Regions from separate parts of the Homo sapiens genome. Here region 1 is linked to region 2. Evidence: promoter capture Hi-C in 16 types of primary human blood cells and fetal thymus (Javierre and others, 2016). All regions are on one chromosome and are shown on one strand. The core of a region is centred on a gene start or on the middle of the fragment in contact, and the rest is flanking DNA. Distances in the headings are between cores, read along the strand shown. Region 1 has its middle 3.8 kb from the start of TBC1D20. Region 2 holds the start of NRSN2 (neurensin 2).

Evidence for each region. The method cuts DNA at HindIII sites, captures the fragments that hold promoters and counts their contacts. A CHiCAGO score of 5 or more calls a contact.
Region 1: a contact is called between a fragment that was not itself captured here and the fragment with the promoter of NRSN2 in region 2, in 12 of 17 cell types (naive B cells, neutrophils, activated CD4 T cells and 9 more). The highest score is 8.6, in naive B cells.

What each region holds. Positions count from the first base shown.
Region 1 is chr20:463,062-469,641 of GRCh38, forward strand. No RefSeq gene overlaps it. Among named protein-coding and RNA genes, the nearest start is that of TBC1D20, 3.8 kb to the left of the region's middle. The HindIII fragment of the contact is 3,621 bases long and covers 1,566-5,186 here.
Region 2 is chr20:341,218-348,360 of GRCh38, forward strand. It overlaps NRSN2 (neurensin 2), which reads left to right and starts at 5,894. Exons shown (of 5, transcript NM_001323682.2): 1 at 5,894-5,925; 2 at 6,217-6,295. LOC101929937 (serine/arginine repetitive matrix protein 2-like) reads right to left here. Exons shown (of 4, transcript XM_047440635.1): 2 at 6,883-7,143; 3 at 6,202-6,797; 4 at 5,049-5,774. The coding sequence ends at 5,451. RefSeq lists enhancers at 4,666-5,429, 5,430-6,192, 6,193-6,955 and silencers at 5,762-6,181, 6,202-6,731, 6,912-7,001. The HindIII fragment of the contact is 16,038 bases long and covers 3,737-7,143 here.

The DNA.
Region 1 (6,580 bases), core at 2,126-4,625, 120 kb after region 2:
GCGCTCTGGCTTATCAGGTCTGATTTCCTTCTCGTCTTCAGTGATATTCCTTTCTTTCCAATTAGACATCCATTCCCTTGGTTATATCCCTGATATTGTGATTGTGGCCTCCCGAATTTCTAGTGCTAGGTCTTCATGCTGAAGTTCCCATAATTCCAGTTGCTTGATGACTCTCTTCCACCTCCCACCCCCAACCACAACAGTTCTTTATTATCCTGAGACCTCCAGCCCATGAAACTCCTGACCTCGTGATCCGCCCGCCTCAGCCTCTCAAAGTGCTGGGATTACAGGCGTGAGCCACCGCGCACAGCCAAGTTTTACAGTTCTATTCATAAATCTAGTAAATTATATCAGTTATTTGGTCCCATTAATAAACTAAGCTAATTAAAATCCTTTGAACATTTGAAACTGCATTTATAAATTCAATTCGTTTTTCTAAGTATCACAGGTTTCTAACAAAGCCTTTCAAGTCCTTGTGTAATTCTTGTAAATGTAATACATTTATAAGAATACTGAGTCATGAGTGCTTTCAAATGTGTCAATACAAACGAGATTTCATCTTAAAATCAAAAGTCTAAATCTATTCAAATACATATTTGTAATTAGTACAAGAATAATCTGTTAGAATTCTCAAAATTATCTTTTTTTTTTTTTTGAGACAGAGTCTCACTCTATCACCCAGACTGGAGTGCAATAGCGATCATAGCTCACTGCAGCCTCAAGCTCCTGGGCTCAAGCTAGCCTCCTGTTGCAGCCTCCCGAGTAGCTGAGACTGTAGGTACACACTACCATGCCTGGCTAGTTTTTTTAGTTTTTATAGAGGGGGTGGGGAATCTCCCTATGTTGCCCAGGCCGGTCTCAAACTGCCTTCGCCTCCCAAAGCTCTGGGATTACAGGCGTGAATCACAGTGCCAAGCTCTTGAAATTATCTTGAACATTATAGGAATTTAAAGTATCACATTTACACAGATGCCTTAATGCAAAATTATTAATACTAGAAGTTTGAAAACATTTCTAGTCTTTGTTCTAAATCATCTGTGAGGCTCATGCCTGTAATCCCAGCACTTTGGGAGGTGAAGGGCTGCAGATCACTTGAGGTCAGGAGTTCAAGACCAGCCTCACCAACATGGTGAAACCCCATCTCTACTAAAAATACAAAAATTAGCTGGGCATGGTGGTGCCTGCCTGTAATCCCAGCTACTTGGGAGGCTGAGGCAGGAGAATTGCTTGAACCTGGGAGGCAGAGGTTGCAGTGAGCCAAGATTGCGCCACTGCACTCCAGCCTAAGAGACGGAGTGAGACTCCATCTCAAAAAATAAATAAATAAAATGAAATAAATCATCATTGAGGTTAAAAGATGCTTAGTGCCCACTGAAGGAAGATTTAAGTCATCCCAGTTTAAGAGTAACGTGCTCAAGCAATTTGAGATATTTATTCCCTTCTCAGTTTACTGCGCTGGTCATCCAGCCAGCTGGATTCTTGCTTTTGGTAGTGATGGAACAGTGACCCCCACCCCATTCCCACCACCACAACTCTAGGACTAAACAGTTGTGTGGTCGTTGTGAAGCTTGGGCCAGAATTTACTTTCAAAAAATGTCCCGCTTCATGTATAATATAAAGACCTTACAATAAATTCCCATTTCTTCCCTCCTGTTCTTCTTGCTGTTGTCCTACATTTTACTTTTTAAAATCCCTTCCTTCTCTTGCTTTCTCCCCTCTACCCACCAACCACTTGCAAACAACCACTGATCTACATCCTGTCACTATAGATTGGTTTTCATTTTCTGGAATTTTTTATGGACGGAATCATATAGTATGTAGTCTTTTTTGTCTGGCTTCTTTTACTCAGCGTAATTATTTTATAAGCAATCATGTTGCATTAATCAATAGTTCATTTGTTTTTGTTGTTAAGTAGAATTTCATCTTAGAAATATACCACGATTCATTTTATCAGTATTTTAAATTTTTGCATGTGCTGCAAGTACACAATTCATTGCTAATATGCTTGCCTTAGACCAGGCGGTTAGCAAAAAAGATGGTCTGCCCACCTGCAAGCCAAAACCACTCTACTGCCTGATTTTGCACGGCTCATGAACTAAGAATGGCTTTTACCTTGATAAATGTTGAAAAATCACAACTTAATTGTAGCACATTAAAACTATATGGAATTTAAATCTCAGTGTCCATAAACCTTTACTGAAACAGAGTCACGCTCATTCATTTACCTACTGTCTATGGCTGTTTTCATGCTGCAACGGTAGAGTTCAGTGGTTGCAACAGAGATATGGCCTACAAAACCTAAAATATTTATTATCTGCTCCTTTATGTATTTATTTATTTTATGTGTGTATGTATGTATGTATTTTTTTGAGATGGAGTTTCACTCTTGTTGCCCAGGCTGGAGTGCAATGGCGCAATCGCAGCTCACTGCAACCTCCGCCTCCCAGGTCCACGTGATTCTCCTGCCTCAGCCTCCCGAGTAGCTGGGATTAGCCCGCCACCATGCCTGGCTAATTTTTTTGTATTTTTAGTAGAGACGGGGTTTTGCCATGTTGGTCAGGCTGGTCTCAAACTCCCGACCTCAGGTGATCCGCCCGCCTCAGCCTCCCAAAGTGCCTGGGATTACAGGCATGAGCCACCGCACCCGGCCTATCTGCTCCTTTATAGAAAAAGATTGGCAGGACGTGGTGGCTCACACCTGTAATCCCAGCACTTTGGGAGGCCGAGGCAGGCAGATTACATGAGGCCAGGAGTTCGAGACCAGCTTGGCCAAAGTGGTGAAACCCCGTCTTTACTAAACATACAAAAATTAGCCAGGCATAGTGGCACAGGTCTGTAATCCCAGCTACTCAGGAGGCTGAGGCAGGAGAATCACTTGAACCCAGGAGGCGGAGACTGCAGTGAGCCGAGATCACACCATTGCACTCCAGCCTGGGTGACAGAGTGAGACTCCACATAAAAAAAAAAAAAAAAAAAAAAAAGTTTTGTGACCCTCTATTGTAGAGATGGAGGTATTGGGGCTGTTGCCCAGGCTGGCCTTCAACTCCTGGCCTCAAGGGATCCTCCTGCTTCAGCCTCCCAAAAATGATGGGATTTCAAGTTTGAGCCCCATGCCCAGCTCACTTCAGTTATTTCTAAGGTAATTTAAAAAAGATTTTAATTGTACTTACCTTCATTCAATTTCCAGTGCTCTTAATTTCATTGTGTAGACCCAGGTTTTTTTCTGGTATCATATTCCTTTTGCCTGAAAAACTTCCTTTAGTATCTTGTAGAAGGAGCAATGAATTCCGTTTTTCTTTATCTGAAACAGGGTTTATTTCTCCTTTATTTTGAAAGACACTTTCATTTGGGTATAGGATTCCGGAATTTTGGGTGAGCAGTTTTTGTGTGTGTATGTGTTTTTCCCCTATCAGCATCAGCAATAAGGTCACTCCATTGGCTTCTAGCTTGCATAGTTTCTGACGTCTCCATAATTCTTAGCTTCCTCTGTATGCAATGTCTTCTTTTTCCTTGCTGCCTTTAAGATTTTCTTTTGTTTTAGCATTTCGAGTATATCTAATTTTATATGTGTGTGTGTATATATATATATATATATATATATATATATATATATATGAGTTTATTCTGCATGTTCTCTGAGCTTCTTGGATTTTGTGGTTTGCTCTGTCCTTAATGTTGAAAAGTTCTCAGCCTTTAATTCTTCAAATGTTTCTTTTCCTGTTCTCTCTCCTTTCTTCTGGGAATCTAACTATAATATGTTTGAGTGTTTGATATTGTCCCACAACTCTTGGATGTTCTCTTTTGACGGTTTTTTTTCCCTTCACCCTTTTTCCCCAGTGTTTCAGTTTGAATAATTTCTCTTGACCTATCTTTGAGTTCATTCATTCTCTCCTTGGCTGTGTCAAATCCACTGACGAGCTCCATGAGGCACTCTTCATCTCTGCATCTCTGTTAGTGTGTTTCTTTTTTTTTTTTTTTTTTGAGACAGAGTCTCGCTCTGTCCTCCAGGCGTGCAGTGGCGCAATCTCGGCTCACTGCAAGCTCTGCCTCCCGGGTTCACACCATTCTCCTGCCTCAGCCTCCTGAGTAGGTGGGACTACAGGCTCCCGCCACCATGCCCGGCTGATTTTTTGTATTTTTAGTAGAGACGGGGTTTCACCGCGTTAGCCAGGATGGTCTCAATCTCCTGACCTCGTGATCTGCCCGCCTCGGCCTCCCAAAGTGCTGGAATTACAGGCGTGAGCCACCGCACCTGGCCATTAGTGTGTTTCTTATTTTGACCAGTTCCATTTGGTTCTCATAGCTTCCATCTCTCTACTGAGATTGCACTTTTGATCTTGCATATTGTCTACTTTTACTGTTAGACCTTTTACCATATTAGTTATTTGAAATTCTGTATCACATAGCTCTGACATCTGTGTTTGGTTCTGAAGATTGCTTTGTCTCTTGGGAGTATGTCATTTATCTCTTGCTTCATAAGTGTTGGTGAAAGTTGGACATCTTGTGTAGGATAGTAGAGGCCCAGGGAAATGGGTTTTGTGTAGAAATGGGCACACTTTTCCTTCTGTTAGGTCTTTAGCGTGGGGGTTTGAATTAACCTAGTTAGGAGTTGTGATAGGCTGGGTGGGTGGCTCATGCCTGTATTCCCAGCACTTTGGGAGGCCAAGGCAGGAAGATTGCTTGAACACAGGAGTTTGAGATCAGCCTGGACAACATAGTGAAACCCCATCTCTACAAAAAAAATAAAAATTATCTAGGCATTTTTGGTGCATGCCTGTTGTCCTAGCTACTGGGAAGGCTTGCCGAGTCTGTCCTGCAGACTCTGCCCAAGCGACGGATGAAAGGAGTACTCAGATACAGATATCCAGTGAAAGAGCAGGATAGGGGACTGCCAGCACTAGGGGCCGAAGAGAATTAGCAGTTCCCCTAAGCCGGCAGCCCTCGCATTTGTTTGGTACAGATTTAATGACAAAGGCTTGGAGCAAACACAATTTGTGGGTAATAAACATTGTTGACCCCCCGAGTAGAGAGCAGTCCTGCATGCAAATGATTAAAGGTTGGTTTCTGGAGACAGGAGTAGACAAATTTATCTAGATAAGTTTCTTTACATTCCCTTGTTATCTGCCCTTTGCTCTCAGGCTCCAGATGAGACAATTTGGCTGCCTTCAGCCATAATTTCCTTCCAAAGCTTTTGTAAAACCTCCTGGCCTTTCAAGAAGGTTTGTGTCTTTACTATAATTTCTCCCACCACCCTGACCAATCTCCTACATCTCCCCCTTTTCTGTTTTTTGCATCAGCTTTTGTTAATTGAAGAGTACAGATGTGCAGCAACAGGTTTTTCAGGTGTAGTGGTCACTGCTTGTATTTCGGCTTTGCATCCTAGAATTAGTAAATAACATAAGATAAACGTGAATATAATCAGTAACATTCTTTTCCAATCAAGGAGTGACATGTAGTGTTACTTGCCACCTCAGTTCAGTGTGTGCCCTTACTAAGGAACCCCACTGGGGGTATGTTAACCCCTTCCAGCCAAGCAGTTACGTTATTAGAGGCTGGGAAGGGGGTGTCCACCCAGGTAATAGGGTGGAAGAAAAGCAGATTTAGAAGATGGGCCCAATAGAGTGTAGCAGGTACTGGTTGCAGGCAGAGTGAGGGAATTAAACAAGGTTAATAAAGCATAGTAAGGAATAAATTATCTGGAGTGAATGGTGTTTGTGTCCAGAGCAGGATTCGTTCAGCCTCCTGAGTTGTCTTCTTCAGCATCCCCCAGGTAATGTCTGGGGCTTGTGTCGTCTGAGGAAGCTGCATCATCCAGGGCTGTGGGTCCTGCAGGGACATTTCCTTCATTTCTGGTACCAGGTTGGGTCCTAGCCACACCATGTTAAGGTTTGATGCGTTGTGCTGGAATCCAAAGAGGACCTGAGGTGATGTGAACACAACCATATCCTCTTCCCCATGTTGGCAACTCATTTGGACCACACCATACATTACTGTTTACATCTTTCCATAAAACTGTGGGTTTTATGTCTTGAGAGGTTTTAGCAAAGTGCTTTTCTATAGCTGATTGAAATTTATCATTTAAATTTAAGAAATTAAGGGTAAATAAGGCTTTTGCTAGTAGTGTTGCAGGGTCCTTACTCATACTCCCCCTTTTTTGTTTTTTGAGCATATTTTTAAGAGTGGACACGTTCTACTATGGCCTGTCCTTGGGGGTTATACGGGATGCCTGTGGAATGCTGGATGTTCCACGTGTGACAAAATTGTTGAAATTGTGAGCTGGCATGAGCCAGACCATTATCAGTTTTAATTTTTGTGGGCCGCCCCATAAATGCAAAAGTTAAGAGAAGAGTTTAATAACATATCAGGTGGACTTTCCAGGAAGAGCATTGTGCTAATTAGGTGAGAATAGGTATCAATGGATACTTGTACATATCTTAGTTTTCCAAATTCAGGGACGTGAGTAACATCTGTTTGCCATAACTGATTAGGTTCTAGTCCTCTAGGGTTAACGCCTGTTGAAGGAGGGGACATGCCTGTGAGCTGGCAATCCGGGCATTGCAGGATAATTTGTTTAGCTAGT
Region 2 (7,143 bases), core at 4,644-7,143:
AATTCTCCTGGCCAAGGTTCCCACTGACCTCCTTGTTGCCAAACCTAAGTCCTGTTGTCCCGCTGTGTGTCTCTTATGCACTTGGCAAGGCTGAGCAGGTCCTTCTTGGAAATGTGTTTCTTTGGTTTCTATGACACAATGCACCCCCACTCCAAAACACACATACACACATCCCAGATTCTTGCCCCCACCCACCACCACCCGCTATCTCTCTAGATGCTTCTGTGGTTCTTTCTCCTCCTCTGACCTCTTCAAATGTAGTATGGTGGTTTTAAAACATGTCCATAATTTTTTTTTTTTTTTTTGAGATAGAGTCTCACTTTGTTGCCCGAGCTGGATACAGTGGTGCGATCAGGTGCGTGCCACCATGCTCAGCTAATTTTTTTTAACTTTTAAGTTTTTTGGAGAGATAGGGGCTCCCTGTGTTGACCAAGCTGGTCTCGAGCTCCTGGGCTCAAGCGATCCTCCCATCTTGGCCTCCCAAAGTGCTAGGATTACAGACTTCAGCCATCGTGCCCAACCATGTCTATAAATTCTTTAAGACTCCTCCCACTGAGTAACAGAGTCTGTTTCTTCCCCTTGAATCTGAGCCAAACTTAGTGACTCAGACTACAGTAGAAATGATTCTATGGTGACTTGTGAGGCTGGGTCATAAAGGCAATGTGGCCTGACTCATGGGAGTCCTGAGCTACAGTGTAAGAGGTGTCAACACTCTCAGCTGCCATGCTGTGAGGAAGCCCAACTGGCTCATGCAGAGAGACAACATGGAGAGGCCTTGAGGCTATATGAAGAGAGATGCTTGGCCAGCTCCCAGCTGCTCCAGCTCCCCAGTGCTCCGGCTTCCACTGTAACCACAAAAGAGACACCAAGGCAGAACCACCCAGATGAGCCCTTCCCAAATTCCTGACCCACAGAAATTGTGAAAGATGATAAAAATCATTGGATTTGGAGTGGTCTGTTATGCAGCCATAGACAGCCAAACAGAGGCATCTTAATCTGCTTGGGCTACTATAACAATTTAGCATGGAGCAGGTGGCTTGACAACACACATTTATTCCTCAGGTCTGCAGGGTGAAGAGTCTAAGATCAAGGTGCTGGCAAATTCCATTCTGCTGGCAACCAAGGGCCTGACTTCTGGTGTACAGACGACCATCCTATTGTAGCCCCAAATGGCACAGAGAAGAAGCAAGCTCTCAAGTCTCCTCTTATCAGGCTGTAATCCCTCCCAAAGGCCCACTTCCAAATAACATCACCTTAGGACTTCAACATATGAATATGAGGGAGATACAAACATTCAGTCTGCAGCAGAGGGCTTCGTTAGAGCTCTGACCTGAGCACGCTTCATCTCAATGTCATTGTTTTTGCCAGCTCTACATCCACTGCCCTTTTTTTTTTTTTTTTTTTTTTTTTTTTTTTTTGAGACAGAGTCTCACTCTTATCACCCAGGCTACGGTGCAGTGGCACGATCTTGGCTCACTGCAACCTCCGCCTCCCAGCTTCAAGTGATTCTCCTGCCTCAGCCTCCGGAGTAGCTGGGACTACAGGTGCATGCCACCACACCCGGCTGATTTTTGTATTTTTAGTAGAGACAGGGTTTCACCATGTTGGTCAGGCTGGTCTCAAACTCCTGACCTTGTGATCCACCTGCCTCAGCCTCCCAAAGTGCTGGGATTACAGGCATGAGCCACTGGGCCTGGCCCCACTGCCCTTTCTTACAGTAACAGTATTTCAATTTCCCTTTAGGGAAGCTCTTCAAGCAGGTTCTCAGTCCAAGAGGTTTCTCTGGGTTAAGCACTGCCAGCCACCCAAAGGGTGAGCAAGTAACCAGCCAATCAGAGACACTCCAGTGGGTTCAGTAAATGACATATTATCTAACTGGGGTGAGGGGAATCAACATCAGGGCTTTTCCTGAGACTATAAGGAGAAACAGATTCTTTTCCCAGCAGTTAAATTTGAAGTCTGTGGCCATTTTGCTACCATATAGGGAAAATCTGCCTGACATTGAAGCCAACACAGATGAGGGAAGAGCCAAGAGATAAAGAGAAAGATCCTGAGCATCTGGATACAGCCATGCCTGAAGCCAGTATCCCTTGACTTCTCAATTATGTGAGCCTTTATATTCCCTTTGTTTAAAGCCAGTTCAAGTTTAAAACTGCCATTTCCAGTGAGAACAATTCCCTATGTTGTATCTAAGGCCAAGACCTTGCCCCTGACTCTAGGCCAGAATGTCCTGTACAGTGCCATTCAACTCTGCCAAAAGCAAAGGGCATCAACTTCTCCACAACCTGGCTTTCCCTCATCTATTTTACATCTCTGTTAATGGGAGCATCACCCACCTGACCTATAAACATAAAAGTCAGCCTCTATCCTCTCTGTCTCTCTCCCTCTCTCTGTCTCTCTCTCTCTCTCTCAATCCCTGTCACTTCCCTTACTTCTTAGTAACCAAGTTCTGCCAACTTAACTTTATGGACATTTTTCACACCTGCACCCTCCTTTCCATTTTTCCTGCCCACTCCAATTCTTCATCATTTCTCACCTAAATTTTTACAAAATCAATAGATAACTAACATAGAGGTGTATAGTAAAAAGTGAATTTCGGCCGGGCACAGTGGCTCATGCCTGTAATCCCAGCACTTTGGGAGGCCGAGGCAGGCAGATCATGAGGTCAGGAGATAGAGACCATCCTGGCCAACATGGTGAAACCTCATCTGTACTAAAAATACAAAAAAAAATTAGCTGGGCATGGTGGCATGTGCTTGTAGTCCCAGCTACTGGGGAGGCTGAGGCAGGAGAATCGCTTGAACCCGGGAGGCGGAGGTTGCAGTGAGCTGAGATCGCACCACTGCCCTCCAGCCTGGTGACAGAGCGAGACTCCATCTCAAAAAAAAAAAAAAAAAGTGAATTTCATTCCCACCCTTGCCATCAGTTACCCTCCCCCAAGGCATCTACTGTTACCTCTTTCTTGTCTATTTTCCCAGAAGTTCTCTATATGTGCCATCTTTTTGAGAATTTCAAATGGAGGCATACTATCAAGACTTTTCAGAACACTGCATCCTTCTTCACTTGAAGTGTGATTAATATAAATAATTATAGACTAATTTCTTCTTTCTAATGGATGCATAGTATTCCACAAAGACATATAATGTACATAACTCGTCTTCCATTGATGGATATTTAAGTGGTGTCCCAGTTATCTGTTAGCACAGAACAAAACCCCCCAAACCTAGTGGTATAACACAATAACCACTTGAATATGCTTGTGGGTTCTGTGTGTCAGGAATTCAGGCAGGACACAGTGAGGCCAGCTTGTTTCTACTCTGCAATGTTTGAGTCTTCAGCTAGGAAGATTTGAAGATTTGAAGGCTGAAGCTGATTCAAATGGCTGGCCACTGGAATCATCTTGTTCTTCCCCTTCCCCTTCGCCTTCTACAGTGCAATGGCATGATGTCGGCTCACTGCAACCTCTGCCTCCCGGGTTCAAGCAATTCTCCTGCCTCATCCTCCCTAGTAGCTGGGATTACAGGTGCACGCCACCATGCCCGGCTATTTTTGTATTTTTAGTAGAGACGGGGTTTTGCCATGTGGCCAGGCTGGTCTCGAACTCCTGAACTCAGGGTATCCACCCGCCTTGGCCTCCCAAAGTGCTGGGATTACAGGTGTGAGCCACCGTGCCTGGCCTCATCTGGTTCTTCTTCACTCACTTCTTTTATGCTTGAACTGGGATGACTCAAAGCTAAGCTTAGCTGGGACTGTGGTGCCTTCATGTGTCCTCTCCTGATGGTCTTGGCATCCTGACAGCATGGCAGCCTCTAAGCAGACATGGAGCCCTAGGTAGGCATGGTGCCTCAGGCTCCAAGAGCTAGAGTTCTAGCAGAAGTTGCCTGTACTTTTATGTCTGGACCTTAGAAGTCAGAGTGTTACTTCCACCGTACTCCATTGGTTGAAGCAGTCATCAGCTCACCCAAGATTCAGAGAGGGTACAAGGATCCCACCTCTCTACAGAGGAGTGCTAAAGAATTTGTAGCTATATTTTAAAACCACCACAGGTTGTTTCCAATCTGTAGCTATTCCTGTAGTTCATTTTACAGGCTAACATCTCTTGAATGTCTTCATTTCTCTGCACCAGGCCAAGACACTGTCATCTCTGATCTCTTTGCTGATCTCTTGCTGTCACTCTTGTGCTCAACATGCTGTTCTCTTGACAGCAGCCAGAGGTCTTTTCAGAATGAAAATCAGATCACATCCCACCCCTCTTCATAACCCTTCCATGGCTCCCCACTACCCTTGGGCTGAAGCTCAAACTCCTTACCTTGGCTTATGAGGCCCCACAAGGTCTCACTTCTGCCTGCCTCTCCAATGCCATCTCCTGTCACCATTTGGGGCCTTTAGTTTTGAGCTGCAAGAGTTCCTCCCATCACACACACACACATACACACACACACACACACTTAAATGAGTAAGTAAATAGAACATACAAAACGCTTAAACACTTTGCACATAGTGAGCATAATAAGTTTGCTACTATTATTAGACTGTCTTCAGTAAATATTTACTGGGCTGCCTACTCAGTGCCAAGCACTATGGGAGGCTCACAGATACAACACGAACAAGAAATATGTGGCCTTGGCCAGACGCGGTGGCTCACGCTTACAATCCCAGCACTTTGGGAGGCCGAGGCAGGTGGATCACTTGAGCTCAGGAGTTCAAGACCAGCCTGGGCATCATGGCAAAACCCTGTCTCTATTAAAAATACAAAAAATTAGCTAGGCATGGTAGTGCGTGCCTGTAGTCCCAGCTCCTCAGGCGACTGAGGTGGGAGGATCACCTGAGCCTTGGGAGATCGAGGCTGCAGTGAGCCGTGATCATGCCACCGCACTCCAGCCTGGACAACAGAGTGAGACGCTGTCTCAAAAAAATAAAAATTAAAAAAAAAGAAAAAGAAAAACTAAAAAGGAAGATGTGGCCCTATCTTGCCGAGCTCATTCTTCTGTGTGTCCCCAGCCCCTAGCACAAGGAGAAACAGAATAGATGCTCAAGACACAAAGGCATGTCTGTGCAAGGGTGCTTGATGACGGTTGGAGGGGCACAATGACTTTCCCAAGATCACACAGCAAATGTGGGACAAAATCAAGGCTGACAGCTCATGACAGGGTGGGAGGCAGATGCAGCTGCCTGGCACAGGCTGGCTCTCCAGGGAGATGGGCAGTGGGCACGCATTGCCCAGGGCAGAACTGGGGCTAGGGGAGGAAACAACAAGGGAGGCTGTCATTAGCTCCTTCCAAAGTGGAGGTCACTTCTCTCCCAACCCCGAGTCCTCCACCCAAACTCCCTTCTCAAGGTACAAGGGCTGATCCCGTACCAGGGATGGGTAGGGACTCAAAGAGGAAAAGAGGATGAAAAGAGGATGGGGACTGAGTGAGATGTGAGGACTCCAGAGGGATTAGCGGCTCTCAAGGCAAGTGGGAGGGGACTTCCCGGTAGGAGCCCGGAGACAGATGGGAGCCTGTGAAGAGGGCGGGGGCCCGGCGAGGAGAAGCGGTTTCTACGCTGGGGTGGGGCTCCATGAGGGGGATGGAGACCTGGAAAAGGGACTGACGGTGCAGCGAGGAGAGGAAGGCTCGGTTAAGGGATGGGTCTTCCACGGGAGGGGTGGGGAACTGCGGGAGTGACGGCAGCTTCGGTGAGGAGTCTGAGGGGCTGCGTGAGGGGCTGGGGCCCAGGGAGTCCGAGGGGTCTCTGTGAGGGCGCTGGGGTGTCCGAGCGAGCAGGGAACTCTGGAAGGGGACAGGAGCCGGGGGAGCTGCAGGCGGCCGCCGTCTGCAGAGCCAGGCCCTGAGGCGGGCCGGCGCCCCCTCCCCCGCCCCGAACTGCGGCGCAGGCGCGAACCGGACCCGCCTTTGCTCGGCGGAGACAGCAGGCAGAGAGGTGAGCTTAGCCCTGCCCCACGCGCGGCCAGGCCCCAGCCCCAGCCCCTGGAGAACCCCCGCGCTCTGCCCGCATCCTCAGCCCGGGCCGTGTCCCGCCAGGGCCGGGACCTTTGCGCCTGAGCCTCGGCTTTGGGAGGTGGGGGTCCCAGGGAAGCAGCAGGGGCGGGAGACAGAAACAGCCCCATCGCCCCTCGACGCCTCAGGGTTGATAGGCTGGGTAGAGGCTTCAAAGGACACCCCCACCCCCGCCAACACTTCAAAAACCCATTCCTACCCCTCTCTGCCTCAGTTTCTCTCTAGGGAAAAGGACGCAGTTGGTGTGGAGCAGGGCATCGGTGGTCCTGTCAGGAAGAGTGGCGCGGGTGCCGGTGGGGAAGGGAGGCGGGAAATGGCCTGATTTCCCCGGCCGACACCCCCTACCCATCCCCCCCGGGAGGGCGCCCCTTCTCCCCCGCCCGGGCAGCGCTGGACGCTGTAGTGGGCGAGTCTGAGGGTCTGGGAAGGACACAACTGAATGAGGCTGTGCAGAGGCGACAGATTCCGTCCATCTTCGGGCCCTGGCTTCCGTCACTTCCGCCCGTGCCTGCCGCCCCTCGCCTCCTCCCTCCGCCGCAGTCTCCCCACGTCGGACAGCGCAGCCCCCTCCGCCTCCCGCTCCCCTCCCACCGAGCTCCTCCCGGCTCCCGGGCTGGGGACGCCTCCCTAGCGGTTCCCATGGCAACCCTCGTCCCGGGTGCCTGCGCCCCGCCCCCCGCCCGCCAGACCTACTCCGTGCAGCCCTGAAACGCCAGGCGGAGGGGCCAGGCCGAGCGGGAGGCAGCGTCAAGGTCACCTTCCCTCTCCAGTAGCAGCAGGACTGAGTGATTCCATCTATTTGGAGTCGCGGAAGCGGTGAATTGGAGGGGAGGAGCTGACCCAGGTCAACAGCCCCGAAGCCCCCTCCACACCTCCTCACCTGTGGCCTTGAACAGTGGTCTCCGCACGGAGGCTCCTACCGTCCCCCAGGCCCCATTTCTTCTCCCCACCCGGGCCTCCCCAGCGCCTCGCCGGGGCGGGTACCGCGCTGGCCGCACCCTCCGCACAGCCCGCCCCGCCCGCCTCCTCCGGCGAGCCCTCCTCTCCAGACCTCTCGCCCTCCTCCTCCGACGGTCCTTCGCTTTCAGTCTCTGCCTTTTCCCGTTCTCTGTCGTGGCTTTTGTTGTTGTTGTTTTTCCTC